Linked DNA regions of Homo sapiens: regions 1 and 3 are each linked to region 2. Evidence: promoter capture Hi-C in 16 types of primary human blood cells and fetal thymus (Javierre and others, 2016). All regions are on one chromosome and are shown on one strand. The core of a region is centred on a gene start or on the middle of the fragment in contact, and the rest is flanking DNA. Distances in the headings are between cores, read along the strand shown. Region 1 holds the start of IL11 (interleukin 11). Region 2 holds the start of TMEM86B (transmembrane protein 86B). Region 3 holds the start of MIR6805 (microRNA 6805).

What was found. Contacts are between HindIII fragments. The CHiCAGO score rates a contact against its expected background, and 5 or more counts as called.
Region 1: a contact is called between the fragment with the promoter of IL11 here and the fragment with the promoter of TMEM86B in region 2, in 14 of 17 cell types (naive CD4 T cells, M1 macrophages, activated CD4 T cells and 11 more). The highest score is 11.1, in naive CD4 T cells.
Region 3: a contact is called between a fragment that was not itself captured here and the fragment with the promoter of TMEM86B in region 2, in 8 of 17 cell types (megakaryocytes, erythroblasts, M1 macrophages and 5 more). The highest score is 13.1, in megakaryocytes.

The regions. Positions count from the first base shown.
Region 1 is chr19:55,367,498-55,371,873 of GRCh38, forward strand. It overlaps IL11 (interleukin 11), which reads right to left and starts at 2,966. Exons shown (of 5, transcript NM_000641.4): 1 at 2,807-2,966; 2 at 1,272-1,444; 3 at 986-1,072; 4 at 713-874. The coding sequence starts at 2,813. RefSeq lists enhancers at 1,221-2,062, 2,906-3,746 and a silencer at 1,729-1,908. The HindIII fragment of the contact is 16,746 bases long and covers 1-4,376 here.
Region 2 is chr19:55,225,572-55,230,012 of GRCh38, forward strand. It overlaps TMEM86B (transmembrane protein 86B), which reads right to left and starts at 3,192. Exons shown (of 3, transcript NM_173804.5): 1 at 3,120-3,192; 2 at 2,620-2,866; 3 at 1,067-1,992. The coding sequence starts at 3,170. The coding sequence ends at 1,610. PPP6R1 (protein phosphatase 6 regulatory subunit 1) reads right to left here. Exons shown (of 24, transcript NM_014931.4): 24 at 4,208-4,441. The HindIII fragment of the contact is 5,765 bases long and covers 1,510-4,441 here.
Region 3 is chr19:55,386,530-55,390,580 of GRCh38, forward strand. It overlaps RPL28 (ribosomal protein L28), which reads left to right. Exons shown (of 5, transcript NM_000991.5): 3 at 41-164; 4 at 1,401-1,519; 5 at 1,714-4,051. The coding sequence ends at 1,803. It overlaps MIR6805 (microRNA 6805), which reads left to right and starts at 1,652; the gene lies at 1,652-1,713. The HindIII fragment of the contact is 1,611 bases long and covers 930-2,540 here.

The sequences.
Region 1 (4,376 bases), core at 1,716-4,215, 140 kb after region 2:
TTGCCCAGGCTGGAGTGTAATGGTGCGATCTCGGCTCACTGCAACCTCCGCCTCCCAGGTTCAAGCGATTCTCCTGCCTCAGCCTCCCAAGTAGCTGGGATTACAGGCATGCACCACCACGCCTGGCTAATTTTGTATTTTTAGTAGAGACAGGGTTTCACCATGTTGGTCTGGCTGGTCTTGAACTCCCGACCTCAGGTGATCCACTTGCCTCGGCCTCCCAAAGTGCTGGGATTACAGGCGTGAGCCACCACGCCTGGCCAGGTCCATGGTTTTCAATGTCATGGGGCCAGGGTCTCCAAGTCTTGAGGTGAGGATTTGAATTCTCAAGGCTTTGGGCTTCAGGATGGGGTCTTGGGTCTTAGGGGCTGGGATCTGGGGACTTTGAGGTCATGGATGATGGAGTCTCAGGGTCTTGGGTGAGAATTTGAAGTTTCTGGGCAGGATTTGGGGGTCTAGGGCCTCAGGGTCTCAGGGCCACAGGATCTTGGGACTGCAGGGTCAGGGTCTCAGAGCAGGACTGTTAGGGTCAGGGTCTCAGAGCGGGGCTGTTACGGTGTCAGGGTCTCAGAGCGGGCTGTTAGGGTGTCAGGGTCTCAGAGCGGGGCTGTTGCACTCGGGTCTGGGGTCTCAGGCTTCAAGGACTCAGGCCACAGGATTTTGGGGCCAGGGGTGGGGGTCTGGGGTGTCAGGTCTTGGGGCCAGGACATACCAGGAGCTGCAGCCGGCGCAGCAGCCGGTCCAGTCGGGCCTGCAGGGTGCCCAGCTCGGGCTCCAGGGTCTTCAGGGAAGAGCCACCTGCCCGGCGCAGCCACTGCACGTGCCGCAGGTAGGACAGTAGGTCCGCTCGCAGCCTTGTCAGCACACCTGGGAGCTGGGGATAGAGCCGGGACATCAGAGAACACCCGACCAGTGCCCCTCATCCTCCCCGCCCCCTTCACTGCCTGCCTCCCACCTTGTCCCCAGCCCACTCCCTTGCCCTTACCTGTAGAGCTCCCAGTGCCCCCGCACTCATGGCCAGGGTGGGCAGGGAATCCAGGTTGTGGTCCCCGTCAGCTGGGAATTTGTCCCTCTGGCAGGGAAAAAAGCTGTGAGGTGGCCCCTGCCCAGCCTCGGGGCTCCCTCCATCCCCCACGCCAGGCCCCCAACTCTTCCCCTCCCTCACTCTGCCACCTGAGAGCCCAGAACCCCTCCAAGTGGCTGCCCGCAGACTCCTCTCCGTTCCTCTCTGCCTCTCACTCCTGTGCTGGCCCCAGCCCAGTCTCTCCTACCAGCTGTGCAGCCAGCTGCCGCGTGTCCGCCAGGAGAGAGCGGGTCAGGAGCACGGTGCTGTCCAGCTCGGCCCGAGGGTCTGGGGAAACTCGAGGGGGGCCAGGTGGTGGCCCAGGGGCGACAGCTGTATCTGGCCACAGGCTCAGCACGACCAGGACCAGGCGGCAAACACCTGGGGGCAGGATAAGGCAGAGAGCTCAGGCTGGACTCCGGGTCTGAGAGAGGAGGGCCTGGGCCTGGACTCCCGGGTCTGAGGGAGGAGGAACTGGGGTCTGGACTCCTCCTGGGTCTGAGGGAGGAGAGGCTGGGGGCCTGGACTCCTAGGTCTGAGGGAGGAAGGCCTGGGGTCTGGACTCCTGGGTCTCGGGGAGGAGGGTCTGGGGCCTGGACTCCCGGCCTTAGGGAGGATGGAGCTGGAGGTCTTAAGTCCCAGGGTGGAACGCCCGCGGGCAGGTCGCAGGGCCAGGCGGGCTTCCCTCTCCCTCCCTGGCTCTGGCTGCCCCGCCCGTCGGAGCAGACGCGGCCCGGGGCGGGTAGACGGGCCGGGCGTCTCCCGTCCGCCCCCGGACGCCGGAATCTGGGCCCCGGGGCGGGGCATGGTGGGGGAGGCACAGGCCAGAACCTGCCCCCTCCCCGGGCCGCGGGAGCCCGAGCTGGCTGGGAGCAGGGGAAGGAGCCAGAAGCCAGGACGGAGCCCGGGAGACACGGACCTCTCCCACGGGAGACCCCTTAGACGCCCTCCCAGGAGCCCCGCCGGGTGGGCGGCAGAAGCCCGGGCCGCAGCGCACCTGGGCGGAGAGGGGCAGAGCCATGGGCCCGGCCGGGCCGCGGGAGCGGGAGAGCTGGCGGCGGGGGGCGCGGGGGGCGCGGGGGGCGCGGGGGTCCGGAGCTCGCTCCCCGCAGCCCACCCCGGCCGCCCCGCCCACCCGGCCACCCGCCAGCCAATCAGCGCTCCCCGGCCGCCCGCGCCTCGCACACCCCCAGCCCGCCCCCCGGGCCCGCCAGCCGTCGGTCTGTCCGCGCCTCCGTCGGCCGCATCTGCCCGGCTCTCCCCGCTTTCCCCCCGCGCCCAGTCTCTCTCCTCCCCCCGGCTGGGGTCGCTACTCCCTGGCTTGCTCCGCTCTCCGCGGACCCTGCCTCAGTTTCCCTCCGGAGCCTCTCTGCCGGAATCCCAGGGAGTCTCCCGGTCCCCGCGGGCTCCCTGGGGCCTGGGTCGATGGGGGTCACCTCCCTCCCGGCACCAGTCCCTGCGTCCCTGCCCCTGCTCGGTCTCCGCGTCTCGCTCCCTCTCGGGGCCCTGTCTGGCCCGTCCCTCCTGCGGCGCCTCTGATTGGCTGCCTCCATCCGCTCCTGTCTGTGTCTCTCTCTGCCCATCTCCTCCGCCGCCTCCTGTCTCCGAAGCTGCTCTCCTCCCCGGCTGCCTGTCTCCGGGTCCCTCTCTGTGCGACTCAGCGGGGTCTGCTCCCACCCCCGCCGTGGGTCCCTCTCCTCCCTGCCTCCCTGTCCCCTCCACCCTCCCCATGAACCAACTTACAGTTCATGTCCCCACAGGGCCAGGGGTTCCCCAGGGCAGGGGGCAGGGAGCCGGGGGCCTTTAACCCTTCCCTGTCCGCTGCCGGGGGAGCCCCGAGGGTCAGCTGGGCCGCGGCCTGGGGAGGGGAGGCATGTGCCCTGAGCAGCAGGGCCGCGGCAGTGAGGGAGTGTGGACGCCTGGGGGGTTATATAGGGGGCTGGGGCGGGCGGGCGGGGGGCAGGCGGCAGGGGAGGGCGGCCTGACACATCCTGACTCACCCTCCCTGCCTGCCTTTTCCATTCAGACGGAGCGGCTGCCTTGCAGGGCTCACGCCGCCGCGCTCGGAGGAGGGCACGGAAGGAAAAGTTGGAAAAGTTGAAAAGGGAAAGGGGGGGGTGGTCGGAGAGGGGCTGGTGAGGTCATTGGCGTCCCCTCCCTCCACCTCCACGGGCCGGAGCAGACACTCAGGCTCAAGCGCTGGGGCCCGACTGTGGGTGGGGGTCCGGCTGGACCAGGACTAGCAGAGAGAGATGGGGAGGCAGGAGGACGGAAAGGCAGAGAAAGGCCGGACGGAGGGACAAGACAGGGGCCTGGAGAGGTGGAGGCAGGAGGAAGAGGGAGTGGAAGGGAAGGAGAGAGAGAGAGACACACACACACACAGAGTGAAGGACAGACTGAGACAGAGACAGGGAGATGGAGATCCACAGAGATGGAGGCAGCCAGAGAGACACACCAGAGAAGCAAAGAGGATCAGAGGGGCAGCCCTGGAGACAGAGGGAGAGGTTCTGGGAGTCAGAGATCAGAGAGCGGGAGGAAGACAGCAGGAGGGACTTGGGGAGACCCAGGGAGACCCCGAGGGGAAAGGAACAGAGACACCAAGACTCTGAGACAGAGGATGCCGCAGCTGAAGAAAGGCACCAGGCAAACAGAGACACGGGGCAGAGTGACAGGGACGGAGAGGCCCCAGGGACAGAAAAGGGGAGACAGAGATATTAGAAAGACAGAGACGCTGAGATGTTGGGGACTCAGCAATGGGGGCAGAGAGTAAAAGCCTTTCTCATTTTTTGTTTGTTTTTTGTTTGTTTGTTTTTTGGTACTGAGTCTCACTCTGTCACCCAGGCTGGAGTGCAATGGCGCGATCAATGGCACAATCTCAGCTCACTGCAACCTCCACCTCCCGGGTTCAAGCGATTCTCCTGCCTCAGCCTCCCAAGTAGCTGGGATTACAGGTGTGCGCCACCACACCCGGCTAATTTTGTATTTTTAGTAGAGACGGGGTCTTACCATGTTGGCCAGGCTGGTCTCGAACTCCTGACTTCGTGATCCGCCTGCCTCGGCCTCCCAAAGTGCTGGGATGACAGGTGTGAGCTACCGTGCCTGGCCTCGTTTTTGGTTTTTTTGAGACAGAGTCTCGCTGTGTCACCCAGGCTGGGGTGCAGTGGTGTGATCTCAGCTCACTGTAACCTCCGCCTCCCAGGTTCAAGTGATTCTCATGCCTCAGCCTCCTGAGTAGCTGGGATTACAGGCACCCGCCACCATGCCTGGCTATTTTTTGTATTTTTAGTAGAGATAGGGTTTTGCCATGTTGCCC
Region 2 (4,441 bases), core at 1,942-4,441:
GCTTCCACTTCTCCTCACTCCAACTGTGGATTCCTGTCCTCACTTTCCTTCCTGGTCCCCGTCCTCCAGGCTCCCCACCTTCCCTTCCCACCTCTGTACTCTCACATCTGAGTCCCTAAATGCAGGTCATGGATGGAGAAGTCACCTCTCTGCTGTAAGAGTCCCTAAATGCTGGCCATGGATGGAGAAGTCCCCTCTCTGTCGTAAGAGTCCCTAAATGCAGGTCATGGATGGAGAAGTCACCTCTGCTCTAAGAGTCCCTAAATGCAGGTCATGGATAGAGAGGTCGCCTCTCTGCTGTAAGAGTCTCTAAATGCTAACCATGGATGGAGAAGTCGCCCCTCTGCTATGAGTCACTGAAAGCACATCATGGATGCAGAAGTCAAATAGGGTCTTGGAGAGCAGCTTGGACCCTGTCAAGTCTTCAGATGCAGAATCTGAGGACCTGAGGGATAGCAGCTTGCCGAGGTCACACAGCCTTGACAAGGAGCACAGCTGGGTTCCTCCTTCCCATTTGATTCCTACCCCCTTGCCGCCCTCCCTCCTCCAAGACCCCTCATCCTCAAGCCTCCCACCCTTCTCCCGATACTGCATGTGACTGCAGCGGGTTGTATCCCCTAGAAAGATATGTCCAAGTCCTAACCCCAGATACCTCTGCAGGTGACACTACTTGGAAATAGGGGCTTTGCAGACATACTTAAGGATCTTGAGATAGAATCACCCTGGGTTTAGGGTGGGCCCTAAATCCAATGACCTGTGTCCCTAGAAGGATGCGGACACAGAGGGAGGCTGCCAGTTGAAGACAGTCACATGAAGACGGAGAGACACAGCCACAGGCCGATGGAAGCCAGGGATTCCCGGGAGCCTCCAGAAGCCGAGAGGGCAAGGACGGATTCTTCCCTGGAGCCTCAAGAGGGACCATGGGCCGGAAAACACCCGGATTTTGGACTTTGGGTCTCCAGAACTGCAGGAGAGTCCATTCATCTTGTTTCAAAGCATCTGGCTTGGGGTAATTTGTGACAGCAGCCTCAGGAAACTAACACAAAGACCAAACAGTCCTCTTGGCTCAGTTCTGCACAATCCTCACTTTATCCCCCCGAATCCCCCCACCAGAGGGCCATGGAGGGTCCCACTGGGCACCAGGCCTGGTCCATGGGGAGCGACAAAGAACCTTCTGCTGTCATTAACCGCGATGGTTTATCACAATCATGACCCTCCCCGAGGCCTCTCCTACGGTAACAGCAACATCTACGGTTCCACACCCACAGGGAAAACGGATTCAGAGCAGCAGCAGGGGGCGGGCAGGCTGTGGGGCCGACAGTGAACATGGAGGCAGGCTGGTGGCTGGGAGGGCTCCATGTGGGCCTGGCTGAGGAGCCAGGGATCTGGAGTCAGAACCGGGGGAAGGCAGCTGGAACCCAGTAGTGGACTTGGAATTCCGCAAATCGTCCTCAAACGTCTTCAGCCAGAAGCGACGGCGGCAGCGGCGCCTGCAGACAGGCGTCAGGAAGCTTCGCTGCTGAGGGTATTTCTCAGGCTGGGCTGGGCTGGGAGGCCCAGGTCCTTGCAGGAGGAGAGGGCCTGAACACCGGCCCTTCAAGCTCCCTAGTCAGTCAGTCTTGGGCACCGGGCTCCTGAGGGCTGACAGTGTGATGAGGAGCTGGGCAGCATAGTAGGTGGTCATGATCACCAGGTGGGCATGGGGCAGGGGCTGGGCGAAGGTGTCCCAGGCCAGCACGCCATCAGAGAGCGTGAAGAGCAGCGCGCCCCAGCCGGCACTCCCGCCCTGGGCCAGGCCGCGCCACAGCATGGCCATCAGGATCAGCCCATAGGCTGCCACCGGCAGGACCATATCCGGCTCGAGGTGCTGGAGCACAAGGCTGAGGTAGGGGCCAGGGGCCAGGATGATGAGCAGCAGCAGGCCGGGCTGCAGGGGAGAGAAGCCGAAGGCCCAGACGTAGAGGAGGTGGGCGGTGGCAAAGGCGGCCATGCCTGGCGGGAGAGGGGTGGGGTACCAGTGAGGAAGGCCCATCCTGGGAATGGCCCCGAGGTCACCCCTCAGGGCCTAAGAGAAGGACCATCCCAGAGCACCAGGCCCCACCCTGGCCGAGCCTCCTTGCAGGTCTCCCCACATGCAGTGTCCATCCTTGCTCTGCTCAGAACTGCCAGGAGGCCCCACCTTCCCTTGGCCTCCAAAGCCCCATGGCCTCCAGCTCTCCAGCCACTCTGCGCCAGCCACCCTGGCCTGCTGGGCTACAAGCACCTGACACGTCCCTGCCCCGGAGCCTTTACACTCGCCCTTCCTCCACACAGGCATACAGCCCTTCAGCTCTGCCCAAATGTGACTTCCTCAGTGAGGCCTTCCTCAGCAACCCTGCTTCAAACTGCAGTACCTCCAGCAGGTCCTCACTGCCCTCTGCGCCACCTCAGCTACTGCCCTAACACCGCCTGCCCCCACCCCTCGCTGGAGCGTGAGCTGCCTCGGTCACGGCTGCGCCCCCCACTGTGCCTTTGACCACTGGAGCTCTCACAGGAGCCCTCTGCACCCAGGCTCCCATCCAAGTGCTGGGGCCTCTCTCACACGGGCATCTGGAAAGCGTCACAGCACCTTCCACTCACCAGGGACGAAGGCTGCCGGCCAGATGAGGCAAGCGTCCCCCACAGCCGAGCACACAAGGGCTCCCTGGAGGAGCTGGGTGTAGCCCCCGCTTGGGGACATGACCCACAGGAACCCAGCCAGGCAGAGGACGGGCAGGCACTTGACCAGGGCAGCGAACCAGGACAGCTGGTCCTCGGGAATCCAGAGGCAGAAGTACACGCAGCAGGAGAGGATGAAGGGGCTCAGCCACCTGCAGACATCTGGGCGCTTTGGGGAGTGGGGAGCTACTGAGCCGAAACCCAGCCCAGCCCCCATTCTTGGGACTCAGATCTCATGGCTCCTGTCCCACCCCCACCTGGGACCCCAGCTGTACAGGCTGGACCCATTCAGGGACCAGGCTGCCAGAACCCAGCTTCCCAGGGCCCAACCAACTCAAGGACAGCAGCTCCCAGACCCGCCGGCTGCTGGGGTTCCAGGGCCCTGTCCCCCCAGCCCCAGGCACAGCTCAGAAGGCTCTCACCTGGGCTGAGCAGTGAGTCTTCAGGGTCTGCCCCGCTTTGCCAGCGTCCATGCTGGCCTGATAGCCCCAGAGCGACCTAATCTGGGAGCGAGTGGCTTCAGGGGGTGGAGGGGAGGGCTCATGGTTACACGTTAACCCAAGGAGCGTCCTGTGGACTCTGTGACTGATAACAGGGCCCAGGGAGATGTTGTCCTCACCCTGGGGATGGCCCTGCCTGGCGCCCGCTGATAAAGCACTGTTGGCACTGGGGGTCCCTCTGCCCTAGCCTGCTGGGACATGGCTTCCTCCTCCTATCTGCCTGGGGAGGTTAGGCCCACAAATGCCTGTCCCCTTGTCCTGGGCCCCAACAATCAGAAGAGATGGGGTGCAGAATTCCAACAGCCACCCCATCATGGGAAGCGGGAGAGGGGCTGGCTGGCAGGAGTGCCCCTGGAGGGATGGGAAGGCGAGTCTGTCCTTCACTTGCTGCCCTAGCCGTCTCCCTCCCTGCTCCATGAAACCTTTCCTCATTCTGCTCAACCCCACCAAGCCCTCAGGGGCTCCACCACAAACACTGCTTCAATGGGTGACCAGGAGGGACCACCACGAATGCGGGGAACAAGCACCCTCTCCTGTTAGCTGAGCGAGCCCCCAGGTGACCTCCAAGCCAACTGCCACCCCAGTGAGGACGCTGTCCTCATGGCCCGGTCCACACGCTCCGGTTTCCCAGCGCCGCTCACCGGTGCCACTCGCTGCACACGCAGCCTACACTTCTACCTTCTACCTGAAAGACTCAGACCTACTGGGCGCCAGTACCCAGCCTCAATGCTGGGCTTGGTTACTGGGGGTAAGCAGGGGCAGGAGCAGGGATTTGAGCCTGTCGGTGGCTTCTATCCTCTGCCCAAGGCCCTGCCCACAGGTGGGGTAGACCTGGCAGGAGCCCTCACAGCCAGTGCCTGGCCCAGCCTGGGGCCTCTGCAGCCACAGGGCTCCCTCTGGCAGGACAGTGTGGGGGCAGACTGGGTCAGGAGCACCCCCAGCCTCTGGGGTGCAGGGATAATACAGGCTCCCCACCCCGCATCCCAGAACGTAAGGTCTGACCAGCAGAATCGTAAACTGCCTTCCTTTATTTATATTTGCAATATGAAATAGAAGCTCGGCACAAACGCACGCACACTCACACCAGCCTGGGAGGAGGGAGCTGGGGACAAGGTCACTTGGCAACAGGGCTGGGACCTCAGACCCTCAAGGCCCCTGGGGCTGTTGCCGGGGAGGCCCCTGCTCCCCAGAGCCGGACTGGCCTGGTTGAAAGTGCAGGGTCTGGGCAAAGGCACGGCCCCCAC
Region 3 (4,051 bases), core at 485-2,984, 160 kb after region 2:
GGTCCCTTATTCACGATGCCTTGTGCCGCCTCCTTCCCAGGAGCCCAATAACTTGAAGGCCCGCAATTCCTTCCGCTACAACGGACTGATTCACCGCAAGACTGTGGGCGTGGAGCCGGCAGCCGACGGCAAAGGTGTCGTGGTGGTCATTAAGCGGAGATCCGGTGAGTTTTGTCTGGTTTGGGCCAGAGAGCGGCCCCTTTCCCGGGTCTGGGAGCTGTGATTTTTTACTGTCAGGCAGGAAGAGCGGTAACTGCCATCGCGGCGGGCATCCCTGGCGCCAGGGTGTTGGTCTGGGTACCGGCTTCCCTCTCGGCCGACTTGTCAGCTCTGTGAGCCGCGCGCGTCTGAGCCCGTGTCCTCACCTGTAAAGTGGAGAAATGAAAAAGGACCTGAACTTCCTCGGTGGTTGTTGAGAGTTAAGGCACGGGGTTGATGTTTTCAGATGAAATTCTCAAAGCAAGTCAGGGTGGGGATGGATGGTTTCATCCCACAGGTGGGAAGATTGAGGCACAACAGGGGAGGGGCCCTCGCTACCACACTTAGGAGGGGACAGGCTGGGTTGGTTGCAGCCATTTGATTCCCATTTTGCCTGTGTAGGTTAGAGAAGAGGTCTTGGGGACCCCACTCCATACATTGTGCTGTCAGGTGCAGGCCTTTTTGGGGATTCCCTGAATGTTCGTGTGAGTCGGGGGTCTCTAATGGAGGAGTCCAGCTTCACATGTGTTCTTGACAGGGCTGTATTTTCTTTTTAGAGTGAGTTTTTCTCAGGTCCTTGATTGGAACTGCCTCAGAGCCAAGGGTCCTTTTACTCAGTGGCAGCAACAAACGCAGTCTGTTGGCTAGTGATCCTCCTGTCTCAGGGACACGTAGTCCAGGGAGCAGCCAATTGCTTGGCACTTGGGGACCCCGTTCTGGGGAGTCCTGAAAGCTTTCACCTCTTGGATTGCCGAATACATGGGTGGCCCTTCCTAGACTAAGGGACTGGCCTGAGTGAGGCTGGGCCTCTCAGCCAAGCTGATGTTGAACCACTGCTGTGGGGATGGGCCTGGGGTTCCTGGGAAGCTGTTCATACCCATTGCCAGGAGCGTGGGCTCTGGCTGGACCTGGATCAGATCCTAACTGAAGCGGCAGCTTTCTGGCATGAGAAAGGAGTGTTTTCATGGTGGACAGAATTGGGCTATGAGTGTGGCAGAAGCTGTGTCCTCAGTACTCCGTGATGACGAGTGAGCCTCTGTGAAATGGACAGGTGGGAAAACAGCTACCTGCTGGCCTGCCCAGGCACCCGCCACGGGCCCACGCTGCTCAGCTTCTCAATGTGAGACTGTCCACACCTGCGAGGTGTGCTAAAGGTGCAGGTTAGGTGGACTGACCCCAGGACCTCCCTGACCCCCAACCAGGCCAGCGGAAGCCTGCCACCTCCTATGTGCGGACCACCATCAACAAGAATGCTCGCGCCACGCTCAGCAGCATCAGACACATGATCCGCAAGAACAAGTACCGCCCCGACCTGCGCATGGTGAGCTGGGGTTTGGGGATCAGGCTTGGGGAGACTGGCCAGTGCTGTGGGGAAGGGCCTCCCACTACTGGTTGCAATATGGGCTGGAGAGGGATGGATTCTTGCTTTCAGCCTACTCCCCACACCCAGCATTGGCCTAGGGGGCGGCTTGTGGAGTGTATGGGCTGAGCCTTGCTCTGCTCCCCCGCCCCCAGGCAGCCATCCGCAGGGCCAGCGCCATCCTGCGCAGCCAGAAGCCTGTGATGGTGAAGAGGAAGCGGACCCGCCCCACCAAGAGCTCCTGAGCCCCCTGCCCCCAGAGCAATAAAGTCAGCTGGCTTTCTCACCTGCCTCGACTGGGCCTCCCTTTTTGAAACGCTCTGGGGAGCTCTGGCCCTGTGTGTTGTCATTCAGGCCATGTCATCAAAACTCTGCATGTCACCTTGTCCATCTGGAGGTGATGTCAATGGCTGGCCATGCAGGAGGGGTGGGGTAGCTGCCTTGTCCCTGGTGAGGGCAAGGGTCACTGTCTTCACAGAAAAAGTTTGCTGACTTGTGATTGAGACCTACTGTCCCATTGTGAGGTGGCCTGAAGAATCCCAGCTGGGGCAGTGGCTTCCATTCAGAAGAAGAAAGGCCTTTTCTAGCCCAGAAGGGTGCAGGCTGAGGGCTGGGCCCTGGGCCCTGGTGCTGTAGCACGGTTTGGGGACTTGGGGTGTTCCCAAGACCTGGGGGACGACAGACATCACGGGAGGAAGATGAGATGACTTTTGCATCCAGGGAGTGGGTGCAGCCACATTTGGAGGGGATGGGCTTTACTTGATGCAACCTCATCTCTGAGATGGGCAACTTGGTGGGTGGTGGCTTATAACTGTAAGGGAGATGGCAGCCCCAGGGTACAGCCAGCAGGCATTGAGCAGCCTTAGCATTGTCCCCCTACTCCCGTCCTCCAGGTGTCCCCATCCCTCCCCTGTCTCTTTGAGCTGGCTCTTGTCACTTAGGTCTCATCTCAGTGGCCGCTCCTGGGCCACCCTGTCACCCAAGCTTTCCTGATTGCCCAGCCCTCTTGTTTCCTTTGGCCTGTTTGCTCCCTAGTGTTTATTACAGCTTGTGAGGCCAGGAGTTTGAGACCATCCTAGGCAACATAATGAGACACCGTCTCTAAAATAAAATTAGCTGGGTGTGGTGGTGCACCGCCTGTGGTCCCAGCTCCTCAGAGGTTGAGTAGAGGCTGAGGTGAGCGGAGCACTTGAGCCAAGAGTATGAGGCTGCAGTGAGCCCATGAGCCCCACCACTACACTCCAGCCTGGAAGACACCATGACACACAGTGAGGCCTGGATGGGGAAAGAGTCCTGCTGTTGATCCTCACATGTTTCCTGGGCACCTAACTCTGTCAGCCACTGCCAGGGACCAAGGATCCAGCATCCATGGCACCCCTGGTTCCTGCCATCCTGGGGTACCCGATTCAAAGAAGGACTCTGCTCCCTGTCTGAGACCACCCCCGGCTCTGACTGAGAGTAAGGGGACTGTCAGGGCCTCGACTTGCCATTGGTTGGGGTCGTACGGGGCTGGGAGCCCTGCGTTTTGAGGCAGACCACTGCCCTTCCGACCTCAGTCCTGTCTGCTCCAGTCTTGCCCAGCTCGAAGGAGAGCAGATCTGACCACTTGCCAGCCCCTGTCTGCTGTGAATTACCATTTCCTTTGTCCTTCCCTTAGTTGGGTCTATTAGCTCAGATTGAGAGGTGTTGCCTTAAAACTGAGTTGGGTGACTTGGTACCTGCTCAGGACCCCCCGCACTGTCCCAATCCCACTCAGGCCCACCTCCAGCTGGCCTCACTCCGCTGGTGACTTCGTACCTGCTCAGGAGCCCCCACTGTCCCAGTCCCACTCAGGCCCATCTCTGGCTGGCCTCACTGCGCTGGGACTCCGCCTTCATAAGGAGAGCTCACTGCTCACGTTAGTAGATGGCCCCTTCTCGTGAGGCCTCTCCCCTGGCACCTGCTTCAGTTGTCCTCCACAGCACTGATTTGCAGCCCACAAGCTGGCAGGTTTATCTGTCTCATGTTTGTCTTGTGCTGGTGGGCAAGGGGTTTGTCTAGCACACCAGCATATAATGAGATGCTTGATGAATGGTGCATATTGAATGTATAAAGCCCACCGGTCCTGAGAGTTTGCTCACTGGAGACTTTCTGGAGATGGAGTCTCGCTCTGTTGCCCAGGCTGGCGAGTGCAATGGCGCGATCTTGGCTCACTGCAGCCTCCACCTCCTGGGTTCAAGCGATTCTCCTGCCTCAGCCTCCCGAGTAGCTGGGATTACAGGTGGGTGTCACCACACCCAGCTCAGTATTGTATTTTTAGCAGAGATGGGGTTTCACCATTTTGCCCAGGCTGGTTTGGAACTCCTGACTTCAAATTACCCACCTGCCTCAGCCTCCCAAAGTGCTGGCATTACAGGCGCTCGAGGCTTTCTGATGTGGCTGCTGCTGCTCAGAAGGCCTTGTCCTTAACCACCTCCTTGCCTGCCCTGGAGGCTTGTGCCTCTAGGCCCCACC